2 separate regions of the Homo sapiens genome follow, and region 2 is linked to region 1. Evidence: promoter capture Hi-C in human tissues and cell types (Jung and others, 2019). All regions are on one chromosome and are shown on one strand. The core of a region is centred on a gene start or on the middle of the fragment in contact, and the rest is flanking DNA. Distances in the headings are between cores, read along the strand shown.

Evidence for each region. Contacts are between HindIII fragments. The study calls those that stand out against the background at their distance.
Region 2: a contact is called between the fragment with the promoter of WBP2NL here and a fragment that was not itself captured in region 1, in 1 of the 25 tissues and cell types used here (spleen).

The regions. Positions count from the first base shown.
Region 1 is chr22:42,345,490-42,353,416 of GRCh38, forward strand. No RefSeq gene overlaps it. Among named protein-coding and RNA genes, the nearest start is that of LINC01315, 20 kb to the right of the region's middle. RefSeq lists an enhancer at 6,108-6,608. The HindIII fragment of the contact is 5,764 bases long and covers 1-5,338 here.
Region 2 is chr22:41,995,327-42,003,253 of GRCh38, forward strand. WBP2NL (WBP2 N-terminal like) reads left to right here and starts at 3,462. Exons shown (of 6, transcript NM_152613.3): 1 at 3,462-3,554. The coding sequence starts at 3,493. SEPTIN3 (septin 3) reads left to right here. Exons shown (of 12, transcript NM_001363845.2): 12 at 1,576-2,895. The coding sequence ends at 1,641. It also overlaps the pseudogene SLC25A5P1. RefSeq lists enhancers at 3,012-3,528, 3,529-4,043, 5,378-6,577 and a silencer at 3,355-3,414. The HindIII fragment of the contact is 18,305 bases long and covers 1-7,927 here.

The DNA of each region.
Region 1 (7,927 bases), core at 1,207-3,706:
ACCGGGCACTAAGCCAGAAGCTTATGCACCCCCCAAAGTGTCCCTACCCTGAAGGGAAGCAAGACCCCCCTCAGGGTTAGATCCAGAGCTAAGTCCAGGAGGTGGGACTGGTCTGCAGTGCAGGAGAGGCAGGCACCTGCATCCCAGAGCTGGCTCCAGACAGGTCTCCCTCCTGGGAGGGAGGTTGCACAACCTGGGCACCCCACCTCCTCAACTACTCCCTTGCCACAGCGGCCTGGCCAGTTGCCCTCCTCACTGAGGGGGCAGGAAAGCAGGCCTAGCTCAACAGCCAGCAACAACACACGAGCCACAGACCACCTTCCTGGGCCTCAGTGTGCCCATCTGTCATGTGGGGGAACACCGCCAGCCTCTATGGGCTTTTATGGGGGAGCGGGGGCAAACAAGACAGCTGATGATGGGCAAGGAAGAGGGAGAACCAGGCAGTTAATGCTCCAGCTCTGAGCTGGTCTGGGTTCACATCCTGACTTCCCGATCACCTAGCTGTGACTCACCTGCTCGAGGCCTCAGTTTCCTCATCTGTAAAAACAGTAGAGGGGATTATAAAACCAACAGACTCAAGAGACTGTAATGAGGGTGACAGGACCATGCATGGTTGGGACCTCAGCACAATCTGACAATCCCAAGGCCTAAGACCTGTGACCTTGAAGGTGGAAACAGGAAAAAGGAGCAGCTAAACACATGGACCCTGGAGGGTTCACATCCAGCTCTGCTCTGTGTGGCCTTGGGCAAGTTACCTAACCTTACTGGCCTCAGTTGCTCTGTCTGTAAAGTGGGGCTATTAATGACAGTTCTCACCTTATCAGGTTGTGCTGGGGCTTAAATTAGATAACTCAGGTTCTGTACTTAGAACAGCACCTGGCACCAGTAACACTCAAACAGCACTAGTTTGCTTCTCATTACTCTCGAGATTATAAAGGCAACCAGTCCCAAGCTCGAGGAGATGCTCCTGCTGTCCCCAGGAGACCGTGGACCTGATTTTTCATTCAGAAAATAATCAGACAGACCTACGTTCAAATTCTACCTCTACCAGCTGGCACCTCTAGGCAGGCCTCAGTCTCCTCAGCTGTGAAGTGGGGGCACAGCGCCTACCGCAGCTGCTCTCCAGCTACACCTGAGCCTCACCCTCCCGTTGCCCCTCACCAGCTTTCCAGTGAAATGAAGACAGCTCAGTTGGGGACCCTGACTACAGCCCCAACAGTGGCCAGATGGGGCACCGGACCCAGAGCAGCCCCTCGTGCAGTCTGAGAGCCCCAGGGCTGCCTAGGCAGGTGGCTGGGGGACCAGCTGAGCCTCTCGGGGCCCAGATTGTTCCAGAAGCCATGGACGGGTACCACCTGGAGAGAGGGATGAGGGTCCCTCAGAGAGGCCTTTCCTGACCCCCTAGCTTCAGTCATTCCCAGTTTTCCTGTTTCTATGGTAACGACCATTATCTATAGTCATCCTTCTTCACCTGTGAGTTGTCTGTCTTTGCCCTCCCTCACCCAGGGTCCATGAGTGTGGGGATTTTCGTCTGTCTTGATCCCTGCTAGACCGCTAGCATCTAGAAGAGTGCAAAGCGCATAGTAGGTGCTCAACAAATATATGCCACTGAATAAGGATTCTCAGATAGTAACAGTTAGCTAGAAGGCTGGGATGGCGGAGCCCCTGCCTGTGCGTAGCTCCCCTTCCTGGAAGACAGCCCCGTCCAGCTGTGGTCCCCTTCTCTCCGTCTCCCCACAGCAGGGGTGAGGAGGCCTGGAGTTGGTCCCCTCTACAGCCAGGAAGCATGTCACTTTCACGGCAGTGCAACGGGGTTTCTCGGGCGAGGGAGGGACCTGGGCAATTTTCTGGCTCACAGCTCATTCCAGAGCTGCCTGGTGACACAGACGTCCCAGCCCCCACAGGCCCAGGGAGGCCCTGCTCCAGCAGATGCAGCCTGGGATTCCCACCCTCGTGCCACCCACTGGGACTGAAGGGGCTTGCCGACTGAGCCCCAGGATGTCATCTGGGGGCTGGGCTCCCGTCCGCAGCCCCAGCCCCAGGCCCTCACGTGTGCACAGCACTCCCCCGTTACAGTTTACAAAGTGCGTTCACAGACATTATCACGTCGGCTCCTAAACGCCCCCTAAAAACCACAATAAATCTCTCGCTCTGGCTCCCGAGCCCACCGGCTGCTGCATAATCAGTGAGCAGAGAGGCCTCAGGGCCCACAGCCTGCCAAAGCCGAGGCAGCGCCAGCAGGGGCAGAGGGGGCTCCACGTGGGCGGGTGGCAGGTGGCGGGTGGCAGGCCCAGCTGGGGCGCCGCAGGAGCGAGGAGCCTGCCGGAGGCCCAATCCTGCAGAGGCAAAGTCAAAAAATGCTGTCTCAACACAGAATGTCTCCTGGAAGATGGGACCAGCAGGTCTTGAGGGGAGGTGATGGGGACCCAGGGGCGGGGCAAAGTCTAGGAAGGGGCTGAGTGCTCTTTAGTACTTAGTAGCATCATTGAGGAGGTGTAGCTAGGAGGTAAACATGGTTCTCAGTCCAGCACTTGGGGCCCAGGGACAGTCAGCCCAGCTGGCTTCTCCCGCTCTGCTCCTCTTCATTCCTAGATAACGGCCCTCCACTAGCGCGGGCCCCCTGGCTATGGGCTCCCGTGGCAGGGCTCCCCATGTGCCAAGCCTTTGCGCACTTGGTCGTTCTTTTTGTCTGCAAGATCCTTACCGCTGTGTTGAAGTCCTAACCTTCCTTGAAGGGAAATTGAGAACTCTCTCACCTGGAGATCCCTCCCCAGCTTCTGGAAGCCACACTTGGGCCCCAGAGCTGCACCTGGGTTCACCTCCCTTAACCGTCACAAGTCCCTTTACCACTTTGTACCTCATGCCCTGGGACAGGGGCTGCATCGTGCTGCCTTTGCAATGGCCCAGGGCCCCCGCACGCAGAAGGGGTGCCTGTGAACGACAGTGACCCGCCAATGACATGAGGCCTCAGGCTTATAGGAGGAGGTGAGACCCCATGTGACAGATACAGCCAGCACCGCTCCTGTGTTTGCAGCCCAGCCACTGGCTTTGGGCAGCCCCAGAGAAAGATTCCCCCAAATGTCTGAGCCGAATCAGCCAGCGGCTGCAGTTGGGTTTTGTTTTTTCACATTTCCCTTGATTCTCAAAGTTATAGGAGCTCAACTTACAAACTATGGAAAGTTCAAGAAGTTTAAATAAGCAGGGCAAGGGAGGGCCTGGTGTAAGGGGGCGGTGGCTGCCCTGGCAGGCTTCCCTCCCGCAGCCTGCCCCATAAGCCTTGGGCTGGACCTCCAGGCCGCAGAGGTGGCTGATCTGTCACACTGGCGGTTGTGAAGCAGGTGGCAGCTTCTCTGTAGTCACCTATGAAAGGATCTAGCATTTCTGCTTTCCCCGGTTATCAAAACCAGCTGCCAGACCTGAGCCTTGGTCGGGGGTCAGGGGACACCATAGGCCCTGTGAAGTGTTCACGCTGCGGTGTCTGAAGCCCAATAGAGGCAGAGGGAGTGGGGGAACTGGAGGTGGGAGGTGACTCATGGGGCAGATATCCTCCCTCCCAGGGGACACTGGACCCCCTCCATGAGACCCCTGAGCCCACAGCCAGAGGACTGGGAGAGCAGAGCCCAGGCAGCCCCAGGGCCTGGCTCCTTGGCCTGGTATCCCAGCTCCTTCCCCCAGCAAGGGACTTGTATCCAGAAGCACCAAGAATTCTTACAATGTACAATCAAAGGACAAGTAGACCAATTTTTTTTTTTTTTTTTTTTTTTTCTGAGACTGAGTCTCGCCCTGTTGCCCAGGCTGGAGTACAGTGGCACAGTCTTGGCTCACTGCAACCTCTGCCTCCCGGCTTCAAGCAATTTTCTGCCTCAGCCTCCTGAGTAGCTGGGATTACAGGCGCGTGCCACCACACCTGGCTAATTTTTTGTATCTTTAGTAGAGACAGGGTTTCACTCGAACTCCTGACCTTGTGATCCACCTGCCTCGGCCTCCCAAAGTGCTGGGATTACAGGGGTGAGCCACCACGCCCAGCCCAAATAGACCAATTTTTAAATGTGCAAAAGATTGGAATAGAATTTCTCCAAAGAAGATATTCAAATGGCCAGGTGCAGTGGTTCACGCCTGTAATCCCAGCACTTTGGGAGGCCAAGGTGGGCGGATCACCTGAGGTCAGGAGTTTGAGATCAGCCTAGCCAACATGGTGAAACCCTGTCTCCACTAAAAATACAAAAATTAGTTGGGTGTGGTGGTGGGCGCCTGTAATCCCAGCTACTTGGGAGGCTGAGGCAGGAGAATCACTTGAACCCAGGAGGTGGAGGTTGCAGTGAGCCGAGATCACATCACTTCCTGGGTGACAGAGTGAAGCCCTGTCTCAAAAAAAAAAAAACGCTTGACATCATTAGTCACTAGTCAAAATCACAATGAGATGCCATTTAATACCCACTGGGATATCAAAAAGACAAGCAATAACACGTGTTGGTGAATATTTGCAGAAATTGGAATACGTGTGCTTTGCTGGTGGGGATATAAAATGGTGCAGCCACTGTGAAAACCATCTAGCCATTTAGCAAAACATTAAAAAATGAGTTATTCTATGACCTAGCAGCTTCACTCCTAGGTATACACACCGAAAAGAAGGGAAAGTATATGTCCACATGAAAACCTGAACACAAATGTTTCCAGCAGTTTTTTTGTTTTTGTTTTTTCCTTTACTGTGATGAAGTTTCAGTCTTGTTGCCCAGGCTGGAGTGTAATGGCGCAATCTCGGCTCACTGCAACCTCTGCCTCCCAGGTTCAAGTGATTCTCCTGCCTCAGCCTCCCTAGTAGCTGGGATTACAGGCATGTGCCACCACACCCAGCTAATTTTTGTATTTTTAGTAGAGATGAGGTTTCACCATGTTGGTCAGGCTGGTCTCGAACTCCTGACCTTAGGTGATGCACCTGCCTTGGCCTCCCAAAGTGCTGATATTACAGGCATGAACCACCATGCCTGGCCCCAGCATCATTATTCATGATCTCCAGAAAGTAGAAACAACCCATATGTCCACTCACGGATGAATGGATAAATAAGATGTGGCATATCCATACAGGGGAATATTATTCAGCCATAAAAAGGAGTGAAGTACCCATTCATGCTACTACATGATGAATCTTAAAACACGCTATACTAAGTGAAAGAAGCCAGACACATATTGTCTGGAGTCCATTCATTTAAAATGTCCAAAACTGGCAAATCCATACAGACAGAAAGTAGATTAGCGGTTGCCAGGGGCTGGAGAAGAGGGGATATTGGAGAGTGATTTCTAATGGATATGGAGTTTCTTTTGGAGATTATTAAAATGTTTTGGAATTAGATATTGGTGATTATTAAAAACCACTGAATTATGTGCCTTAAAAGGATGAATTACATGGTATGTGACTTTTATCTTAATAAAACCGTTTATTATTTATTTATTTAGAGACAGTCTTGTTCTGTCCCTCAGGCTACAGTGCAGCGTTGCGATCACAGCTCACTGCAGCCTCGAACTCTTGGGCTTAAGTGATCCTCCCGCCTCAGCCTTGTGAGTAGCTGAGACTACAGGCATGCATCATTACACCTGGCTAATTTTTTAAATTTTTAGTAGAGAAGAGTTCTCACTATGTTGCCCAAGCCTGTCTCAAACTCCTGAGCTCAAGGAAGCCTCCCACCTTGGCCTCCCACAGTGCTGTGATTACAGATGTAAGGCACCATGCCTGACCAATAAAACTGTTTTTTCAAAAAATAGGGTCCCCCACACCTCAGTGTATTCCACAGGCGCCTGGGAGCCAGCCCTGCTCTCTGCCCAGGCTCAGACCCTGCCCCTCCGAAGCCACCATCCTGGGACAATGAGACACAATGGGGGCAGGGATGCCAGGAGCCGACATGCTGAGGTGGTCAGGGCTCCCTCCACTGGGTCCAGCTGCCTGCTGCCGTGGGCCTTTCGCTCTGGCTGTTGCTTCTTCCTGCAATACTCTTCCCTTTGTCCTGCTCATCCTCCAGAACTCAGCTCAGCGTGCTGGTCCGCAGAGGGGCCTTGCCTGATCCTACACCCTTGTAACTGATTCTCAGTCTCAGTCCTCTCCCAGTTCCCAGCGTTTGACACAATCATGGGGCCAGTGCAAAGCGGATGCACAGTCAACGTTATGTGTGAAGCAGGGGCAAGTAGCTCAGTGAGAGGTTGATGGTGTTTAGGAGGGGTGAGTTGTTGGGGGAGTGGACATCCACCCCACGAATCAGGAAGCCACGAGGATGAGGAGGGGGTGAGCTGGACGCAGATTCTAGAATGATCCCTTTGGTTGTTCTGCAGGGGATGGACCAGCAGTACCAGGCTGGAGACCTGAGGCCGGATAGAGGCCATGGCCTTAGTCCAGGCCTGGAGAGGCAGGGCCCGGCCTTGGACAGAGGATGCACTGGAGGAGGGGAGGGGCACACTTCAGAGAAATTTGGGAGCCAAAATCAAAGTGACTTGGGGATGGCAACAATGTGAGGGAGAGGGAGCCCAGGATGGCACCAGGTTTTGGTGGTGTGAAGGGCCAGGTGAGGATGGGACATTTCTGAGGTCGGGAGCACTGTAGGAGGAGCACATCTGGTATGGCTGACTCTGAGAGGCTGACTCTGAGACCCCAGCAAGCAGTGCCACCCCCACTTATTAAGTCCATCCTCATACCCCATGACACTTCCCATGTCCATCTCCCTTGACATCCAATTGCCGAGGTCAGGTCTCCACAGCCCCTACCTGGTCAAAGCCTCCTGCCATCAAACCAGGTGCCTTTTCTCATTTGTCCTCCATGGTGCCAACAGTTAAAATCAGCACAGCTTGGTCATTCTTCAGCTCAGAAACCTTTGATTGCTCCCTACTGCTCTCTGAACAAAGTCCAGATGCTCCAGCCAGGCCCATGAGACCCTCCAGGGCCAGTCCACTTGGCTTTGCAGCCTCCCCTGCGCCCGCCCGGTTCCTTCACTCCCATCCCATCCCGCACACTCTTCTCTGCTCTGTGCCCTTGCTCCTGCCACACTTCCCACCCCAGATGCCCTGCCCCTAGCTCCCTTCCCCAGTGGGCCTCAGCAGCAGGGGGTCGCCACTCTAGTAGTCTTTGCTGGAACCCAAACCAGGGGATGTGGCTGGACCAGGAATTTTTTCTTTTAGTTCATTTAATTAAAAAAAATTTAAAAAAAAACACTTTTTAGAGACAGGTTCTCTCTCTGTTGCCCAGGCTGGAGTGCAGCGGTGCAATCATAGCTCACTGCAACCTCAAACTCCTGGGCTCAAGGGATTCTCCCACCTTAGCCTCCTGAATAGCTGGGACTACAGGTGCACACCACCACACCTGGCTAATTTTTAAATTTTTTGTAGAGACGGGCTCTCCGTATGTCACCCAGGCTGGTCTTGAACTCCTGAGCTCAAGTGATCCTCCCGCCTCAGCCTCCCAAAGTGATGGGATTACAGGGATGAGCCACTGTGGTTGGCCAGTTTTTTTTGATAGTGACTTTATTTTAAATGACATAGAAATATGTAACAATCATAGTGGGACATGGTGGTGCACACCTGTAGTCCCAGCTATTAAGGAGGCTGAGGTGGGAGGATCCCGTGAGCCCAGGAGTTCAAGGCTGCAGTGAGCTGTGATCACACCACTGCGCTTCAACCTGGGTGACAGAGTGAGACCCTGTTTCTTAAAACAATTTTATTTAATAATTTTAAAAAAAGACCTTAAATCAGAAAGATTGTATTGTGCACCCGGTTGAGAAGTTGTCCCAGGCTCAGACACACAATGTCAAAGTCCTGGAGAACAGGGACCCTGTCTGTCATGTTCACGGATGTGGCCCCAGCACCTGGGATCTCTTGTCTGGGTGCCAAGGTGGGGTTGGGGGAAGGGTGAGAAGAGGGATGGGCATGGAGAGTAGGGAAGGAAGGA
Region 2 (7,927 bases), core at 2,212-4,711, 350 kb before region 1:
GCTGGGTTCTTGCAGAAAGCATCAGTGCCTACAAATGGAGCTCCACCCTTCAGTCTGTGTCGTGTTCAGTGTCACAAAGCTACCACCTGTCACCAGAGCCTACTGCTGCTCTCCACTCAACTGGCCTCTGCTGCCAGGCCACTGCCTGTCTCTGCTTCCGACTTTGTCTTCTTTCTCCCTTTCCCTCCTTCCCTCATACATTGCTTTCTCTCCCTCTCCTGCGTGTCTCTGACATCTCTCACTTCCTTTTAGATGAATCTACTTTAGGTTCATTCCTATATTTAGCATTTATGCCCAGTCTACTTCCAGAAATGACTTTAGACTGCCTTTCACATAAAATCACAAAACTACAGGACAGTACAAACAGATTGCCAGAGAAATCTGGGTCAAAGAAAGGAATAGGAAAGAAAGTTTCTGTAGTCAAGCACCTGAACAGGCCCTGAGCTCACAGGCAGCCAATGTAAAGAGGGAAACACAGTGAGTTATGCAGTTCCCAGTGTCCAGTTAAAGGAAGCACACATGCTAGTCATGTGAGACAACCTTTTATTGGGACATCAGGTTCTAGAACTAATTCTAAAGAAGTATCAGAAACAATATACATAATTTGTCTTTCTTAGTAATTTGGCTTCAAAGACAAATTTTTGACCACACCTCCGTTTTCTCCGTCAGACTTCTCTCCCTTCTAAGCAGGCTTCTCTGTTGCTCCATTTGCTTCATACATACTTGACCTCTCTTTTCTATTCCCCATCACTTTTGTGCTGAAGCTAATCATATTTATGTCTGTCTTTCTCTACTTTTCCCTAATTCCCTCTCCTCCTGACTCCTGTAGACATTCCCAATGATACCCACCGTCATACATTTAGGCTTTTCTTGCCTTTCCCTGAAGCCCTGTATTTATTAATGCATATATTTCCCCTGCTTGTTGTACAAGTAAGTTACTCTTTTCCTTTAATCTGTAAGATTCATGAAATTCGGGGCCAGGGAAACAGTTTAGCCTTAGGGAAGGGAAAACACTAAGTGAAACTGTTTACAATAACCTCATACAACCTTCTGTCCCATCTCCTGGTTCAGCCTAGGTGTTTCACTGGTCCTCTATGAATCCCAGCACTTATAATCCCAGTCTTTTATCACTCAGGTGCTAGGAAAAAAAACATAGACTCAAGACCCAAGATTCAATGGACCAGGAGAAAGGGGGGCGGTGATCAGGTCACCAGTGACCCCAACCTATGCTCTCGGTCTTTCCTGGAGGCTGCCAACCCAGCCCTCATCCTCCCTTGCTCACAAAGTTACAGGGTAGGCACCTGTCAGGACAGAACAGCAGCAGCGCTACAGCCCAGAGGTTATACATTTCAACAGAACAGGGATCCTTGGCTACTGTAGAAGCAGTCCTGTATGGAGACCTTGGACCAGCAGGGGAAGATCTATGGGCATGGGAGGTGGGCGTTGGAAAGGCTGAGTAGGAATGGTGCCTGGCACCCCTGAACCATGATCTGAGCCTCCCTGGAGAAGGTATTTTATATGTCTGCTGCCAGCTGCTGGTCTCCACACCCTCAACCGTTCTCAACCCCCCTGCAGGGAGAAGGCCTCCTGGGCACTGTCCTTCCACCTGTGCCAGCCACCCCCTGCCCCACTGCTGAATGAAGGCCATTTCAAGCGCTGCTTCTCACTCCATTCCTCTCAGCTGTTATTGCTGCAGGGCCAAGCCCTTTTTAGTGCTGTGCTCGTCCAGCTCACCACCACAGCCCCTCTCAGCCCTCAGTAGGTGGGAGGGGCCAGCTGCCTCTTTAGGCCAGTTGCATCCTCCATTTATCCAAACCACTCCTCTCCTCCCAGTGGAGTGGGGTTCTGCCAGTACAGCCCTACTGCATCATCTGCGTCAGCCGGTCCTAGCCCATCTGCAGGGTGAAAGAACTCATCAAGAGCTCCTTCTGCCCTTGTAAGCCCATCCCAGCTACTTGTAACCATCTCTAAGGGCAATGGCATTGCTCCCTACCCATTCATCTGCATGAGCTACTCTTGGCTTCCTTAAAGGGTCAAGAAAGCAATTTTTCTGCTTACTAGATTCATTGAGATCAGCTGTGTGAGCCCCAAAGTGGGACAAGGGTGTCTCCTTCATTACTTAAAGATATTCATGAGGGTGGGTCACTACAGATGTTGGGGAGCAAGGGCTAGGATCACTTTTTAAAAAATCACCACTTGTGGCTGTCCCAGAGTGCGGTTGTACATCCTCCCCACCTCATAACGCAGCCACTGAGGAAGAGTGGTTTTCCTAAGAAGACATTGCTGGAGTTGACTTTCTTCTGTCCAAACAAACAAACAAAAACTAAACACACACACAAACCCCCAGAAACCCACAATATGTACACGCTAAGGAAAAACTAGCACCCTTCTGTCCACTCAGCAATAAGAGGGATCTCTTCCCACCTACCCTACCTACTCCTACCCCCAACCCCCTTCCCCATTAATGTGAGTAATGAATTAGCCTGACCACAGGTGGTCACTGTAGGCTAATGGAAAATACCCAAGGGAGGGCAAAGCCCCCCATCAGATGCATGAATGTTTGCGAATGTTGACTGCCACTGCCCCACACACTGTGTCTTTATAGAATTCCCCTTTGCCCACCCTCTTCCTGTCTCCACCTGGACACAACTTGCTCAAAGGCTGGTGACTTGTGGGCCATTCATCTACAACCAAGTCCTGATGGAGCAAGAGGCCCACGCCTAGGGGATGCAAGAACAACCCGTTTCTTAAATGTTACCAGTCCCAGCCAATCTTACGGTGACATTACAGTTAAATTTCCCAATTGAAAACAAGCAAACAGACACTCAAACTGGTCCTGTAATTGTTGCTAGACTTTATGTGTTGTACAACTAAACATTGCTGTTTGAACAGTAACTGCCTGGCCTGTCTTATTTGTGCTCCTTGACCAAATCAGCCATTATGTCATCTCACCCATGTGTGGAGGGTGAGACTCTCTTGGTAAGAAATAGCCACAGATATTAGAGATGAAAACACTTTGTGAGGTCAGTTCATCTTCAGTTGGCGTCAGGTCGGGCCTCAGTCATTATTTTCTAGTGTTTCATAACCAAAGTGAGTAATGGATGGGAGGTTGAGGTGGGAAGATGGCTTGAGCATGGGAGGTTGGAGGTGCAGTGAGCTGAGATCATTCCTGACAGGACCAACCCAAGTCCATACCTAAAGGCAGGGGGCTAAGGGGGCAGGTGAGGTCGGGAGGCCACTCACCTATCACTCACCCCTTCGCGCTCGAGCCAATTCTCAGGGCCCGCCTCTTTCTCCCCTTTCTCGGCGGGGGCCTCTACCCTGACTCCGCCCCGCTCCCCGGGCACTGCCCCACCACGTGACCCGGTCTCGCTCCTCCTCCTCCTCCTCCTTACGTCATAATCTCCGCCCTCCCCTTCAGAACCGCGCCCCACAGCTCGGCGCAGGTCCCGCCCCTTTCCATCTACGGGGCGGCAGGAGGCCCGAAGCAAGATGGCGGTGAATCAGAGCCACACCGAGAACCGCCGCGGAGCCCTCATCCCTAACGGTGAAAGGTGCCTGAGGGGAAGCACGGCGTGCTGTCGGAGGAGAGGAGACGAATGAGATAGACATGGCGGCTCGCAAACTCTCAGCGAGTCAGGGACTTTGCCGCCTTTTTTGGGCGCGGCGCTCTTAGCTCCGCCCCCGACCTTTGGGAGCGCGCGCCCCTCACTGGTGTTCCGGCATGTGGAGGTGGCGGAGGCCGGAACGCGTGGCCTCGCGCGTTTGAGGGGTGGGGGTGGGAATGCGCCTTTTCAAGGCGCGGGGCCCAGACGCATGTCTCCTCAGGGCGGGGCGGGGAGGGGGTGCGAGACGCGTGTGTCCTTCGAAGAGAGGCCGGAGCTGACCGGCGGTTGTGAGCAGCCGGGGGCCTTCGGTGGCAGCGTGGCTGCCCTTGGGTGCCTGCGACTTTGTTGGATGAGGACAGGTACTGGGTGTGTATCTCCTCCTACTTCCACGAACAAGGTGTCGCTCTTTGGTAAGAGGGATGAGGAGGTCGAGTGTGGATCATTCTGGAAAGATCTCAAACTGTTGTGGGGCTTCTCCTTGGACCTGGAAACTTTCTAAAGCCATGTTTCCTCCTTGCTCCAACCAGGGAGATGTCTGCTTTTAAAAACAAAATTGAAAAAATTGAGGCCAGGTGCAGTGGCTCATGCCTCTTATCCCAACAGTTTGGGAAGCTGAGGTGGCCCAGGAGTTTGAGACAAGACTGGGCAACATAGTGAGACCCCATCTCTACAAAAAGTAGAAAATTAGTGGGCCATGGTGGTGTGCACCCATAATCCCAGCTGCTTGGGAGGCGATGGTAAGAGGATTGCTTGAACCCAGGAGTTTGGGCTGCAGTGAGCTCAGATTGTACCACTGCACTCCAGCCTGGGTAACAGAGCCAGATCCTGTCTTAAAATAAAAGATGGGACTGAACAGATGCCTGGGCACAACAAAGCACTGTTGGTCGCAGGAAGCTGTGGGGCTTACACCAGTTGCTTTGCTCCTTGCGGTGCCTGCTGCTGGCCCCTGAGCTCTCTACTGGAGCAGACTCAGCCAGAGGGGTGCCCATCTCCACCTTCAAGCACACTTGTTCACTAAGGCCTGACTCCACTGCGCTCACCTCTTTACCCCACACGCCCCCTTTCCCGTTTCCTACACTCAAACTCAGTCTCCCCCGCTGTGCAGTTCTAAATTGCGCTCCTTTCTGGGCTCTGACTTGCCCTCAATTTCCTTTTCTCCCAACCAGCATTGAAACTCAAGCTGGATGATGTGCTTGGGGCCAGCACACTCAGGTCAGTTTGAATGTAGTTGTCAGGAAGATCGAAGTAGACGTTACCAAATGCTGATATCCAGGTCTTTCTTCTATCTTTCCTTCCTCCAGAAAGTTTTCTTGACAGATTTATATGGGCCTTAGAGGTTGTATGTTCTCACCTGCTTCCTACGTACCTCTGCTGCTTTGTTCCATTTTGTGGTAGATGATTGCTCACCACTCTGACAGTGGTGTCCCCGTGAGCACTTACTGAGAGCCATTTGAGCACTTGTCATTCCATGGTGTGAAGCCTTTCTTTTCTTTTCTTTTTTCTTTTCTTAAGATATTTTTATTTCTCCAAATTTGTTATTTATTAGGAGTGACTGAAATAAAAAACATAATTGAGTCCCATCATCATCATCATCATAGAAATGGCTTTAAGAGAAAACTGGTCAGATGACTATTATTGCTTCCCATTTCCAACCAGTGAATAGTTGCCACTGATAAATTGACAGCGAGGAGTCTGTCAAGAATGCTCAAGATAGCCGGGCGCGGTGGCCCACGCCTGTAATCCCAGCACTTTGGGAGGCCCAGGTGGGTGGATCACAAGATCGGGAGTTCAGGAGCAGCCTGGCCAATATGTTGAAACCCCATCTCTACTAAAAATACAAAAAAAAAAAAAACAGCCGGGAGTGGTGGCGGATGTCTGTAGTCCCAGCTACTCAGGAGGTTGAGGCAGGAGAATTGCTTGAACCCAAAAGGTGAATCACCCAAAAGGTGAACCAAAAGGTTGAGGCAGGAGAATTGCTCCACCAAAAGGTGGAGGTTGCAGTGAGCCGAGATTGTGCCACTGCACTCCACCCTGGGCAATAGAGGGAGACTCCGTCTCAAAAAAAAAGAATGCTCAAGATATGTCATATAATACAACATGCCTGTTCAAAGGGGGAAAAATCTTAGGAAATAACTTACATGTACTTCTTGGTTTCATCATACAAGACAAGCACAAAAGCACCACCCATGCCTCTGAGAACACTGGACCATGCACCCTTGAAAACAGCTTTGCTTCCTTCATCATGAGTAATCTTCCTCCAGCAGTCAAATGTGCCTGTGTACATGATGTCAGTTCCTTTGCATCCTGACTGCATCATCATGTAGCAGCAAATGGTGTTAAATGAATAGGAAGTCAACCCAGCAACGGCAGTGACAGTCTGTGCATCATCCAACTGATGACAATGTGAGTGTTCTTGGGATCCGGAAGCATTCCCTTTGCAGTGTCATAGTTACCGAAGTAGGCAGCAGGCAGCTCGGTAGATAATACCCTGCACAGACACGTTAAAGCCTTGGTACAGGCTCTTAATCCCGTCAGATTTGTAGATCTTAACTAGGCAGTCACCGAAACCTCGCAATTCCCTTTCAGCTCCAGCTTTGCCCACATCAGCTGCTACACGAGTATGGGCAAAATCAAGAGGGTACACAAAACACAAGGATGTGGCCCCAGTGGCACCGCCTGATGCCAGATTCCCTGCAAAGTAGCGCCAAAACTGGGATCTCTTGTCCACACCATCCAGGAAGATCTGCTTGTATTTATCTTTGAAGGTGAAGTTAAGAGCCTGGGTGGGGGAAGTATCTGATGACACTGGCCAGGTTACCGCACCAGGACAGGACTCCGTGCTCCTTGGGAATACAGACCATGCAGTCTCTAATGCCCTTGTATTGCTTATCTGCAGTGATCTGCTTGCTGGCATGCTGCACCTGTAGCAGCAGCTTGACCCGCTCGATGGGTGCTACCGCCATCTTGGAGATGGCTGCGGCCACTCCACCTGCCAGGGAGTCCTTGGCGAAGGACACAGCAGCCTCTGTGATGTCGAAAGAGGAGGCAGGCTGCTGTGGGATGGGACTGGTCCGAGAATCGGCTTTGACTCCGGGGCTGATTGTGAAGTCATTTCTAATTTGGTGTTTGGGTGTCTTCTCACTCGGGCTATGGGTGTCTCTCTACTTCACTGCTTGTGTGTTGGAGAAAGGGAAGGAAGCATGTTTTAAAAAACAAAACACAGAAACACTGATTTTTGTGGTCCTTTGAATTACCTTTATGGGATCCATTTTGTGCTCCTGAATACTTAATAGCATTTATCGAACACTATTTCAAGTACTGTTCTTAGTTCTAAGAGCTTTATACTGTAGTTAAAACCACTTTACCAGCCAGGCGTGGTGGCTCACGCCTGTAATCCCAGCACTTTGGGAGGCCAAGGCCAGTGGATTACATGAGATCAGGAGTTCAAGACCAGCCTGGCCAACATGGTGAAACCCCTGTCCCTACTAAAAATACAAAAATTAGCCAGGCATGGTGGTGCACGTCTGTAATCCCAGCGACTCAGGAGGCTGAGGCACGAGAATTGCTTGAGCCTGGGAGGCAGAGGGGAGGTTGTAGTGAGCTGAGATCATGACACTACACTCCAGCCTGGGTAACAGGGTGAGGCTCTGTCTCAAAACAAAACAAAGTAAAAAAACTCAGTCTATCTACAGTGAAGATCAGTACTGTTTTCCCTCATTTCACAGGTGGGAAAACAAAAAGAAGTCATTTGCTTAAAGCGCATGTGGGAGAGCTTGGATTTGGATTTGAACTTAGGTACTGTGCATAAACTCCTGTACTCCAGCTGTCCCTCTAGAAAGAAAAGGACTCTTTCTCTGTTTTCTTCTCACCAAAGAAGATCCTATTAGTACCCTAGCTTCCTGGATAGAAACTACTTTAAAGAACCAGAGATAGTGGTGCACATCTGTAGTCCCACCTATTCGAGAGGCTAAGGTGGGAGGATCACTTGAGGCCAGGAGTTCAAGACCACGCTGAGCAAAATAGTGGGACCTCATCTCACAGAATAAAATTTAAGAAAAGAAAAAAAAGAAACTATAGCCAGGCATGGTGGCACATGCCTGTAATCCCAGCTGCTTGGGAGACTGAGGCAGGAGAATCGCTTGAACCCAAGGAGGCAGAGGTTACAGTGAACAGAGATCACGCCATTGCACTCCAGCCTGGGCAACAAGAGTGAAACTCCATCTCAAAAAAAAAAAAAAAGTGCCAGCTTATGAGGTAATTACATTGGTTCTCTCCAGAGGGGTAACCTGCCAAGAAGAGATGCTATAGATGTTACTCTT